Linked DNA regions of Homo sapiens: regions 2 and 3 are each linked to region 1. Evidence: promoter capture Hi-C in 16 types of primary human blood cells and fetal thymus (Javierre and others, 2016). All regions are on one chromosome and are shown on one strand. Each heading gives the region's core, a stretch centred on a gene start or on the middle of the fragment in contact. The rest is flanking DNA. Distances are from core to core; before and after follow the strand shown.

Region 1 (3,488 bases), core at 91-2,590:
CTGTTGATGAACATTCTGTAATACTGATAATTCAAGCTGATGGTCATCAGTATCCTGACTTCTTTTTTGTTTGAGCTCCTTGATGATATTAATATTTGGTGTTTGTAGTTTGTAGATTTCATTTTCATCAAAACTAGTTGTTCCTCCTATTTTATAAGTCTGAGCAATACATTTCCAATGGCCAACTGGAGACTCAAGTTTTAGAACTTCATTGGACTATCTGTTTATTTCTTGTTATGATGAAATTATGTCATAAAAACCCATGTAAGCGTCGTGGAACACTGAAGCATGATGGGTACCACATGGAATGGAGGGGATGCAGTGTGGATGGGAACCTCCGGCCTTCCCTGAATGTGCTGACTCCAGGGCTGGCTGCCGGTCCTGCAACCGATCCTGTAGTGCTTGCTTTCTTGTTTTAGGAAGGCTCATTTCTACCTCTTTCTGTTGTAATTGATGTCGATAACTTTTAGTTTGCTGCCCTATCTGAAGCTCTGATGCTTCCTAGGTCTCTCCTAGGTCACTAAAAAGATCTTGAAGTCCCTCATTCTTTGATATTAAGAATTCCAAACTGGCATCAGTCTCCTTTATCCCATAGTTAGGGAGCTCTTTCCTTTTTCTATGACATTTAGGAGCACATTTGAGATGTGGCTGATGAAAGAAGCCACATTGCTGCCCATCCAATGCAAAGAAGGGGCTTACCTGGAGCCAAGGCCACCAAACCAGGAAGACATGAGTGTGTGAGCACGTGTGTTAAGGAAAACACACATTGACTTTAATTTTTTTTTTTTTTTTTTTTTTCGAGACAGGGTCTCTCACTCTGTTGCCCAGGCTGGAGTGCAGTGGCGCCATCTCGGCTCACTGCAACCTCTGCCTTTCGGGTAAAAGCCGTTCTCCTGCTTCAGCCTCCTGAGTAGCTGGGATTACAGGCGTCCACCACCACGCCCAGCTAAATTTGTATTGTTAGTAGAGACAGGATTTCACCGTGTTGGCCAGGCTGCTCTCGAACTCCCGAGCTCAAGTGATCTGCCCCCTCGGCCTCCCAAAGTGCTGAGATTACAACGTTGAACCACTGCGCCCTGCTAGAAACAGCTTTTCATACGTTGAAATAAACGAGAGGGTGACCGGGCAGCGTTGGGGTCGGGGAGGCCAGGCGGAGGAGGCCTAGTGGTCTTCTCGCCCGGGGCCTTCTAGCTCTTCGCCCGTGTCAGGTAAGGCACTGTTAGCCTCGGCTCGGTTCGACTCGGCTCTACTCGGGCTCAGCTCGGCTCGGCCAGACCTAGAGGGCGGGCGGGCGGTGCCACTGGAAGTGACGAGGCGAGGGCGGGGCCGCCGGCCCGGGGAGCCACCGCCGCGCCGCCGTTTGGGCCGGGAAGCGATGTAGTAGCTGCCAGGCTGTCCCCCGCCCTGCCCGGCCCGAGCCCCGCGGGCCGCCGCCGCCACCGCCGCCATGAAGAAGCAGTTCAACCGCATGAAGCAGCTGGCTAACCAGACCGTGGGCAGGCGAGTGCGCCGGGCAGCACGGGGGTCGCACCGGGGCTGGGGGCGGAGGGCGGAGGGCGCGGGGGCGGGACGGCTCCTCCGCGGTCCGGCGGCTCTGAGCTGGGCCGCAGCCCCTGCCCGAGACCAGCGGGGCACGGGCCCGGGGGCTGCGCCGCGCTGAGGCCCGAGCGCCGCGCTCCAGGCGGCCCGCCTGTCTCTCAGCGCCGCCGGGCTCCCGAGACCTGCAGGGGAGGGCCGCCGCCTCCTCCGCCACACCGCGGGGTCCCCTGCCCATTGTCCCTGCCCCGGGAGCATCGCCCTCGGGGAGTAGACCCGGTCCTTCTCCTCCCTTCCCGGGGGCCGAGCCAGCTGGGATCGCTGCCCTGGGCTCAACAACGGTGACTTCTGTCCCTAACGCTGTGCCGAGCGCTGTGCTGTGGGGGGCGGCAGTCCCAGGCTTTCCCGGTGCTCCCGCTGTTTGCGAGTCCTTCTCCTGTAAGTGCATGGCGGCAAGAAATGGCTAGAGGGACATGAAAGCCAGCCGGATTTGCTCAGTGAGTTCAGAACGCCCTTTGAGGGAATTCGGAGGTGGTGCTGTCTCAAAACCAGGGCTCCTAGGAACTGGACTGCTGCTGCCAGTTCTTGACATTTAGAAATTAGGAATTGGCGGAAAAGGATTATGGAGACGCCTTGCGCCAATTTAAAAAGTCTCACCTTAGGTTTGGAAACAAATGCTTCTTTATCTTCCTTTGCTACGGTTGAAGTGCTTAACAAGAAACGTTATTGATTATTAAATGGCAGGCTAGACCAGAGTTGGTAGATCAGGTTGTCAGAACAAGAAATGATTTGTGGTTTTTGAGAGTTTCTGGAGGTGACTGTCATGTGCTGTATTATCTGGGGCTAATATTTCAAGGTCTTTCAGGGCAGCTGGCTGTACTGTACCGATTTAGTGTTTATTCAGCAAAGAGATACGAAAGTATGAATTTCTCACAGCTCTTCTTTTGATTTTCTGTTTTTAACAGTTAAGGGGAGTTTGGTTTGGCTGAAGCACGTGGGACACTTCTTTTTTTTGAGTGTATGAAAATACTTTTACTTCCTCTCGAGTTTTCTAAATTTGCTTTTTACTGTTTCATTTCCTCCATCTTTTTGCTTAGTTTCCTTGTTTAATTTTTTCGATTCCCTACCGTATTATTGTGGTGAGAATTAACTCTTATTTTCAGGGTTAATCGCTGCCCCTAAAGCCCAGACAAACCTACTTTTCTGTTATTTGCAGGAAAATTAAAGAAATAATGCTGAGAGGAAGGTAGACGTGTGGTAATGGCGGCTGATGTTTCAAGGAACAGTTTACAAGCACATGATAATTTCTTGTGAGTTTCGTACCCTTGTTAGTGTTCTGAGCAACGTGCATTGTGGAACTAGTATTTAGTAAGTGCCAAGATACATTTGTCAAATAGTCGTTTGGCTTGTTTTTACATTGTTCGTGACAGGTAAGGGACTTTCACTCTTTTTATACAAAGTTCTGAGACTTAAATCTACCAAGCTATTTAGGGTCTCTTTGACTCCTGGGTCATCTTAGAGGCTTCTCCCTTCACACTTTTTTTTTTTTTTGAGACAGGGTCTCCCTTTGTCACCCAAGCTGGGGTGCAGTGGTGCGATCTTGTCTCATTGCAGCCTTGACTTCCCTGGGCTCAAGCGACCCTCTCGCCTCAGCCACCTATGTGGTTGGAACTACAGGTGGGCACCACCACATCCGCTAATTTTTGTATTTTTTGTAGAGTGGGGATTTGCCATGTTGCCTAGGGTGGTCTCGAACTCCTGGCCTCAACTGATCTGCCTGCCTTGGCCTCCCAAAGTTCTGGGACTACAAGCGTGAGCCACCTTGCCTGGCACCTTCACATTTTAAAATTCCGGCCATGCTTGCCTACCTTCAGTTTCCACAGGAGGTCTTGCTTTCTTACCTGCTAGCATCTACTTGGAACTCCTGGAAGCCTCTCCCACCACACCTTTTC
Region 2 (3,865 bases), core at 824-3,323, 470 kb after region 1:
TTGGCTAAATATAAGACACATCTCACAAATATCTTAGGGTTTTAAAAGTTAATTTGATGGATATTACTGGGATGTTTATTCAGACAAAAGGTTCTTTGCTCCACATTAAGGAACTGACTATAAAAGAGTTCATGATGCACTAACCCTATAACTTAATGCATATCTACATAATTTGCCAATGGGTTATCATTTTTGTCCAGCTTTTAAGTATTTTTTTCCTTTAAGAACTAATCTCAAGTGGTAAGTAGAAAAAAACCTCTAAATAATACATATCTCTTTTTATCTAAAATAAGTTCTGACCTACTCAATCTATTTTAAAGATTTTATACCAACCAGAAGTTACTTGATTTTAAGTAACAAGGACTAGACAAATTGCTGTCAACCATCATCTATACTACATTCTAACCAATAAAACAAATAGTCTTTAAAAATAGCCCATTACTATCTAGAATAGAATATAAATACTGATGATTTCCTTGGAAAGAAAACAATTATATTAACTTTCTTACCACTGGAACTAAAAAACTTAAGAATAAAAAAAAAATCTTCCCACTCCTAACACTTAAGATATAGTATCCTTTTTGTTTTTATGCTGGGCTTTTGTGTGCTTTTAAGCTTTCTGCTAACTTATTAGTATTATGTATTTATTGACTTTGAAGTGGTTTTAGATATGCAACTGCACCTAAATCACCTTTTTACCACCAAGTAATCACTATTGCCCCTAAATATCTTATAGTCCACAAAGAAGTCAAATTTACCTCAAATTTAGAAAAGCAAACAAATGTTTCCTACATATAGCAAGGTGTTCAGAAATGAGCAAAAAATGTTGACAAAGAATGGTTTAAAAATGATTAGGAATTTGTATTACTAAACATCAATAAAAATAGTGACTCTTGGTAAGATACTAATGGTAAAAAAAAGTCTGCCACTTAAAGTCCTCACAAAACGGACTGATGCAGACCGTAGACATTAAAATTAACCCACCTCCCTGTACCTAATTAGGGGTCTTGTTTTGGGAAGCAAGGATCTAAAATCTTTTATGCCAATTATATTAGCTTTTTGAAGTTAAAGAATCCTATAAAATACCACTCTGATATTTAGTTAGCAAGAAGAACATCCAGCTTTGGGGTATCAACATGGATGGATGACTAAAAACAAGACTGGGGAATATGGAAACAGCCATCCATTCTTGATTAGAGTTCGCTTCCATTACCAAAACTATACATTTACTTTACTAATCAGGATAAGAAAAATTTGGCTTAGCGCCTCTATTTACTTTGCTTTTGTGAATGTGTACAATCCACGTGACTCTAAATCTCCTAAGATGGGCACTAATTATGCTTGATGAATATATTCTCATCTTAAATGCCAGCAAATGTACCCCAAGCAAATAAATGATGGGGACAACAAGGTTATCTAATATCTCTATTTCAGATAATTCTACCTAAAAATTAAAGCCAATTTTAAAGTATTAAAAAAAAAAGAAAAGAAAAGAGAAACCTAAATAAGCTTAAATAAACTGCTTCTTATAAATGTAATACAGACATGCCGGAACACACAAGGCTAAAAGAATGTTAACTTTATTTATGAACATGTGATTTGTGTTTATACACATGCTAATAAACAAAAAGGAAATAACTGTTTTCAAGAAATAAAACTTCATCTGAATTAGTTTAAATACTATATAAACTGTACTTTATACAAAATGTGTTACATTAACTACTACAGTCACCAGGATAGTCAATCTAATTTATGCTAGCATTTGGATACATAAAAATCAGTTTTAAACCAATCACCAGCAAAACATAAGCTTGGACAGTTTTTACAGCATTATGCTTAAAAAAAAAAAACAAAAAAACAAAAAAAAACACCCCATATCCAAAAAGAGGAAAAAAAAACCCCAAACACTAAGACTTTTGATCTTAGAATCACTGTATTTAGTTCCACAAGAACTAAAGGCCATATACTCTAAAGAACAAGTCCAATGTTCAGATATTCTATATTATCATGTTTAAGATCCAATGATCCAAGGTTAGTGAAATGCCTCATATACAAAGAGCAATAGTATTTAAAAAGTATATAATGTGAAATAGCAAGCAATACCCTTGAATTCTAAATGAAGATTTTAGACATCTTGCATTGTGTACAATATCAAGCCTGGGCATTAAAATGTTTAGAGAACCATTACATTTACAGAACCCAATTATGATAGACCTGTGTTATGAAACAGATGCTTCACCCCACAACTTAGGAATGCTGCTACTTTTTACTTAAGAGCTCAAAGTTAAAATGGTATCACAAATTAAGTTAATCTGTGATTACAAAAATTAAGCTTAACTTTCTTCAAACCAGTTATCCTGGTTAAGGGGAGTTACCTCTGATAAGGTACAGCTTTCAATGGCCTAAAATTAACGCAGCATTTTAGTATAAGAGGGAAATATTTTAATTTGGACATCTGCACTAACTAGATAGAAGTGGAAGATCTCATTAAACTTTGAAAACAATATAATCAGTTTATATAAACTCAAAATCACTAAGACACTTATATATTCATAGGGGGCCCCAGGTTCAGGTTTCACTTTATAGTACAGATGTAAACAAAAGAAGGAGCTCAAAATGCCAAATAAAGCAAGACTAAATAATAAAGCTGCATCAATGGTCTCTGGAAAGCTCTTTTCTATGATGTGTTTGAACTTGGAGAAAGCATCAAACTTTAATATAAGCTTTGCATGTTGCTAATGCGTTTTTGGAAGCCATAAATCAGGCAGGAAAAAAAAAACTAACAAAAACTAAGTGATACAACGTGAAAATGGCAAAATATACACTCCAAACATTTTTTATTGCAAGAAACAAAAAGCACACAACAGCCTGTACATACATACAAAATACTAACTATAGACAGACAAATGTAGAACATGTCATCATGTTCCTTAGTGTAAAACCTAAACGATCTAAAAAGGATCATACATTAACTGTACAACACAGTGTCATACAGGGATAATGCTATCATATTTAATATGAAACAGTGTTACGGGCACAAATTACCCATTTCTACAAAATAAGTGTGCAAGTGATGCCACATATTATCCATATTCAACTGAGCTGTCATCAAAATACATTTTATTTACAATATGTACTATGATCAGTTGGATATTAAGTTCTAAAATGATTTACTTCACTGCTACATTATAAAGGTAAAAGCAATGTGTAGAAAAAGTGTGAGATTGTGTTTTTACATACTGCTTTTGTAGTTGCCATCGCTGGTTCAGTTCGACTTCTAAAACACAAAATAAAAACAAAAATTAACATTAGCTATTTATGAATTTTTGTGCTAATAAATTTTAACACATTATCTTCAATAATACATTTTTAGGAACCTAATTTTCCTTTGGTATAAATATTTAACAGCCAATTTCTGAATGAATAAATTACTCTGATTAATCTTTACCACCTTTGAGCAGTTTTAAGATAGATTTGTGGTTTGGAAAAAAATTCCATACTAGGGAATTCAAAAATAGGTGTACCCTGCCACTTAAAACAAATGTTTTCTGAAAGGTAGTATAGGGATTTTATGTTTAGAAACGTAGTTTATTCTTAATAAACTGAAAATTTTAAATTATATAATTTCCCAGTTTCTGAATGCGTAAATTTTCACACATCAGGAAGACTGCTGTTGTTAACATTTGTAATTTGAATCCCTGAGAAATTGCTGTGCTCCCAAAACTAATTTTCAAATCTGGAGGGCCAGGCTGATAGCTATTTTCATTTTTCAAATGTCTCAAAACAACAATCAAGGATTGAACAAGAGGCCAAGGTGAGAGGATCACTTGAGCCCAGGAGTTTGAGACTAACCTGGGCTGTAACA
Region 3 (3,843 bases), core at 31-2,530, 480 kb after region 1:
CCCCATTTTTTTTTTTAGTTAACCATTTGTCCCCTGCTCTTCTTCATATAGGTATATCTGGATCTCTCTGAAAGGATTTTGCAGACACGACGCCTCTTTATCCCTAAAAAAATCCATGTATATTTCTTGAGAACAAAGGCATTTATCTTACACATTACACTTATCAAAATCCAGAGGTGTAACATTGATACAGAACTATTACCCAATCCACAGTTCCGATTCGAATTTTGCCACCCACTAATGTAATTTATCTCTTTTTTTTTTCCTGGTCTTTGAGCCATTCCTGGATCACACATTGCAATTAATTGCCATGTCTCTCAAATCTCCCTTAGTCTGAAACATTTTGTTAGCCTCTGTCTTCTGAATTTTTTTTTTTTTTTCCTGAGACAGGGGCTTGCTCTGTCACTGAGGCTGGAGTGCAGTGGCATGACCACTGCAGCCTCAAACTCCCTGGCTCAAGTGATCCTTCTTCCTTAGCCTCCCGAGTAGCTGGGACTAAGGCATGTGCCACCACGCCTGGCTAATTTTTAATTTCTTTGTAGAGACAAAGAGTCTCGCTGTGTTGCCCAGACTGGTCTTGAACCCTTGGCTTCAAGCAATCCTCCCTTTTCAGCCTCCCACAGTGTTGGGATTACAGGCATGAGCCACTGCACTCGGTAGTCTTTTGATATTTTTGAAGAGTACGGGATAATTCATGTATATTTATGTCTCTTGATTTGGTTTAATGTTTCCTCATAGTTGGATTTAGGGTTTGAATACCTGGCAGAAAAACCACAGAATTGATGTGTCCTACTCAGGGAATCATTGCAGCAGGGAGTCCGTGATGGCTACTTATTATTGATGATGTTATTTTTATTTATTTTTTTCTTTTCAGAGACAGAGTCTCCTTTTGTTGCCCAGGCTGGTACAATTGTAGTTCACTGTAACCTCAAACTCTTAGACTCATGCAATCCTCCTGCCTAGGCCTCTCAAAGCTTGGGATTTTGAGAACAAAGACATTTTCTCTCACACATTACATTTATTTATTACATTACTTATTTATTTACTACATTACATTTACCAAAATTCAGAGATGTAACATTGATACAGAACTATTATCCAATCCACAGTTCAGATTTGAATTTTGCCACCCACTAATGTAATTTATCTCTTTTTTTTCTGGCCTTTGATCCAATTCTGGACCACGAATTGCAATTAGATCATTACATTTGCATGAGGCATGAGCCACCACACCCAACCTATTTTTGATTTTTAAATAAGGTTGTTTTGCTGGTTTTATCCACTCTACAGATATTACCCCTTTGTAATTAATAAGTAATTTGTGGGGAGATACTTTGAGACTATTTGAAGACCTTGTTCCTCATCAACTTTTCACTCATTAGTCTAGCATTCATTGAAGAGTCCTACCTGAACAATGATTACTACGGCAGTTGCAAAATAGTGATTTTTCTAAGTCCATCATTCCTTTTTAATTTTTTAGTTGTTAGTTTAGATATACTTTGATGAATAGAAATGTTTAAGTATAATGTCAAATTTGAAAGATGTTCCTTTATAGGCAGTGCATTTAGTCTATTCTAAAAGCTTTTAAGTTTACCATTCATATTTAATTCTTTTGTCTAGCTGAGTTCAGTTTTGTTTATGGCATGAACTGCGGGTTCTGTTTCATTTTACTTTCCACATATGGATATCCAAATGTCTCAGCACCTGTCATTTCATAAGTCTTCTGTTTTCTCATGGATTAACATTTTTTTTTCTCCAAATAGTCAACTGTGTTTTTTGGATTAAAAGTATAATAATTCAGCTGGGTATGGTGGCTCATGCCTGCAATCCCAGCACTTTGGGAGGCTGAGGCAGGTGGATCACTTGAGGCCAGGAGTTCAAGTCCAGCCTGGGCAACATGACAAAACCTGTTTCTACTAAAAATACAAAAATTAGCCAGGCATGCTCGTGCACACCTGTAATTCCAGCTACTTGGGAGTCTGAAGAATGAGAATTGCTTGAACCCTGGAGGCAGAGGTTGCAGTGAGCCAAGATCACGCCACTGCACTCCAGCCTGGGCCACAGAGCGAGACTCTGTCCCAAATAATAATAATAATAATAAAGTATAATAATTCACTGAAAATCATTTCTCCCAAAAGTAACCCGTACTATTCTTCCAATAGCACCGATTTTCGAGTTTAATGGTTTTTTTTTGTTTTTTGCTTTTTTTTGTGAGAGTTTCTCTCTGTCATCCAGGGTAGAGTGCAGTGGTTCAACCATAGCTCACTGTAAATTCAAACTACTCGGCTCAAGCAATTCTCTTGTCTTAGCCTCCCTAGTAGCTGGGACTACAGCTGTGTGCCAACATGGCTGGCTAATTTTTTTTTTTTGTATTTTTTGTAGCAACAGGAGTCTTGCTATATTGCCTAGGTTGGTCTTGAACTGCTAGGCTCAAGCAATCTCCCAACTTCAATCTCCCAAAGTGCTGGGATTGAGCCACCACTCCCGGCATTTCTTAAAAATTTAAAGGGGTTAAAAAAAAAAAAGCAAAGAAGAATAATAGTTCATGAAATGTGAAATATTTCCTACTTAGCCCTTTACAGAAAAAGTTTATTGACCCTTTTTCTAAATATTTTTCAGCCATTCCAGTTTGATAAATGACTAGCTGAACTTACAACATTTACCAAAAGTTTGTTTTTTTTTTTTTTACTATATTTTATGATGGTTTAATCACATGGGATGATTTTAGTTTTTAGAAGATTTTTACAATATTATAGTTGACTGCTTTTTGTTTTGCCTTCTCAGCAGCCTTTTAAAGAATGTTCAGCAAGTATGATGGCTCAAGCCTGTCATCCCAGCACTTTGGGGAGATGAGGTGAGAGGATCGCTTGAGCTCAGGAGTTCAAGACCAGCCTCGGCAACATAGGGAGACCCCCATTTCTACCAAAAATTAAAAAATCAGCAGGGCGTGGTGGTGTGCACCTGCAGTCCCAGCTACTTGGGAGGCCAAGGTGAGAGGATCACTTGAGCCCAGGAGGTTGAGGTTGCAGTGAACTATGATCTTGCCACTCCGCTCCAGCCTGGGAGACAGAGCAAGACCCTGTTTTGTTTTGTTTTGTTTTGTTTTGTTTTGTTTTGTTTTCAGATGGAATTTCCCTCTGTTGCCCAGGCTGGAGTGCAGTGGCGTGATCTTGGCTCACTGCAACCTCTGCTTCCCAGGTTCAAGCAATTCTTCTGCCTCAGCCTCCTGAGTAGCTGGGATTACATGCATGAACCACCACGCCAAGCTAATTTTTATATTTTTAGTAGACATGGGGTTTCACTGTGTTGGCCAGGCTGGTCTCCAACTCCTGACCTCAAGTGCTCTGCCTGCTTGGCCTCCCAAAGTGCTGGGATTACAGGCGTGAGTCACTGCGCCAGGCCTAAATGAGACCCTGTCTCCTAAAAGAAAAAAAAAATTCAATTTGTAGAAATGTAAAGTAATAAATTAAGTCATCATATGAATAGATTTTCCGAAAATTGATGTGAGAAATCCATTGTTTTCCCACTATTCATTTAATTCAAAACTCATTCAATTTGAAAAATTTAAAAGTTTGACAATACCATGTGTGAGAGTTGGAGACCAGACCAATTGTTTCCCAAAGTGATTATTCCAATATACATTCCATCACTGGTGGGGGATGTATCCCAGTGATGGGATATATATTGGAACGATCACTTTGGGAAACAATTTGGCATTTTCTAGCAAATTTGAACACTCCTATACTCTATGTAATTTCATTCTTGCTTATATACCCATGGTAAAATTTAATTCTAGCAACTTTGAGCATTCCTTTACCCTATGAATCAGTAATTCTATTCTTG

The links. Contacts are between HindIII fragments. The CHiCAGO score rates a contact against its expected background, and 5 or more counts as called.
Region 2: a fragment that was not itself captured here is called in contact with the fragment with the promoter of ARHGAP17 in region 1 in 1 of 17 cell types (activated CD4 T cells); the score reaches 5.2 in activated CD4 T cells.
Region 3: a fragment that was not itself captured here is called in contact with the fragment with the promoter of ARHGAP17 in region 1 in 1 of 17 cell types (total CD8 T cells); the score reaches 5.9 in total CD8 T cells.

Annotation. Positions count from the first base shown.
Region 1 is chr16:25,013,221-25,016,708 of GRCh38, reverse strand. ARHGAP17 (Rho GTPase activating protein 17) reads left to right here and starts at 1,340. Exons shown (of 20, transcript NM_001006634.3): 1 at 1,340-1,500. The coding sequence starts at 1,448. It also overlaps the pseudogene LOC100421171. RefSeq lists silencers at 1,202-1,451, 1,532-1,581, 1,642-1,691, 1,752-1,801 and enhancers at 1,115-1,783, 1,784-2,452. The HindIII fragment of the contact is 8,408 bases long and covers 1-3,488 here.
Region 2 is chr16:24,548,357-24,552,221 of GRCh38, reverse strand. It overlaps RBBP6 (RB binding protein 6, ubiquitin ligase), which reads right to left. Exons shown (of 18, transcript NM_006910.5): 3 at 3,241-3,277. Among named protein-coding and RNA genes, the nearest start is that of RBBP6, 11 kb to the right of the region's middle. The HindIII fragment of the contact is 522 bases long and covers 1,813-2,334 here.
Region 3 is chr16:24,529,201-24,533,043 of GRCh38, reverse strand. No RefSeq gene overlaps it. Among named protein-coding and RNA genes, the nearest start is that of RBBP6, 8.4 kb to the left of the region's middle. The HindIII fragment of the contact is 607 bases long and covers 977-1,583 here.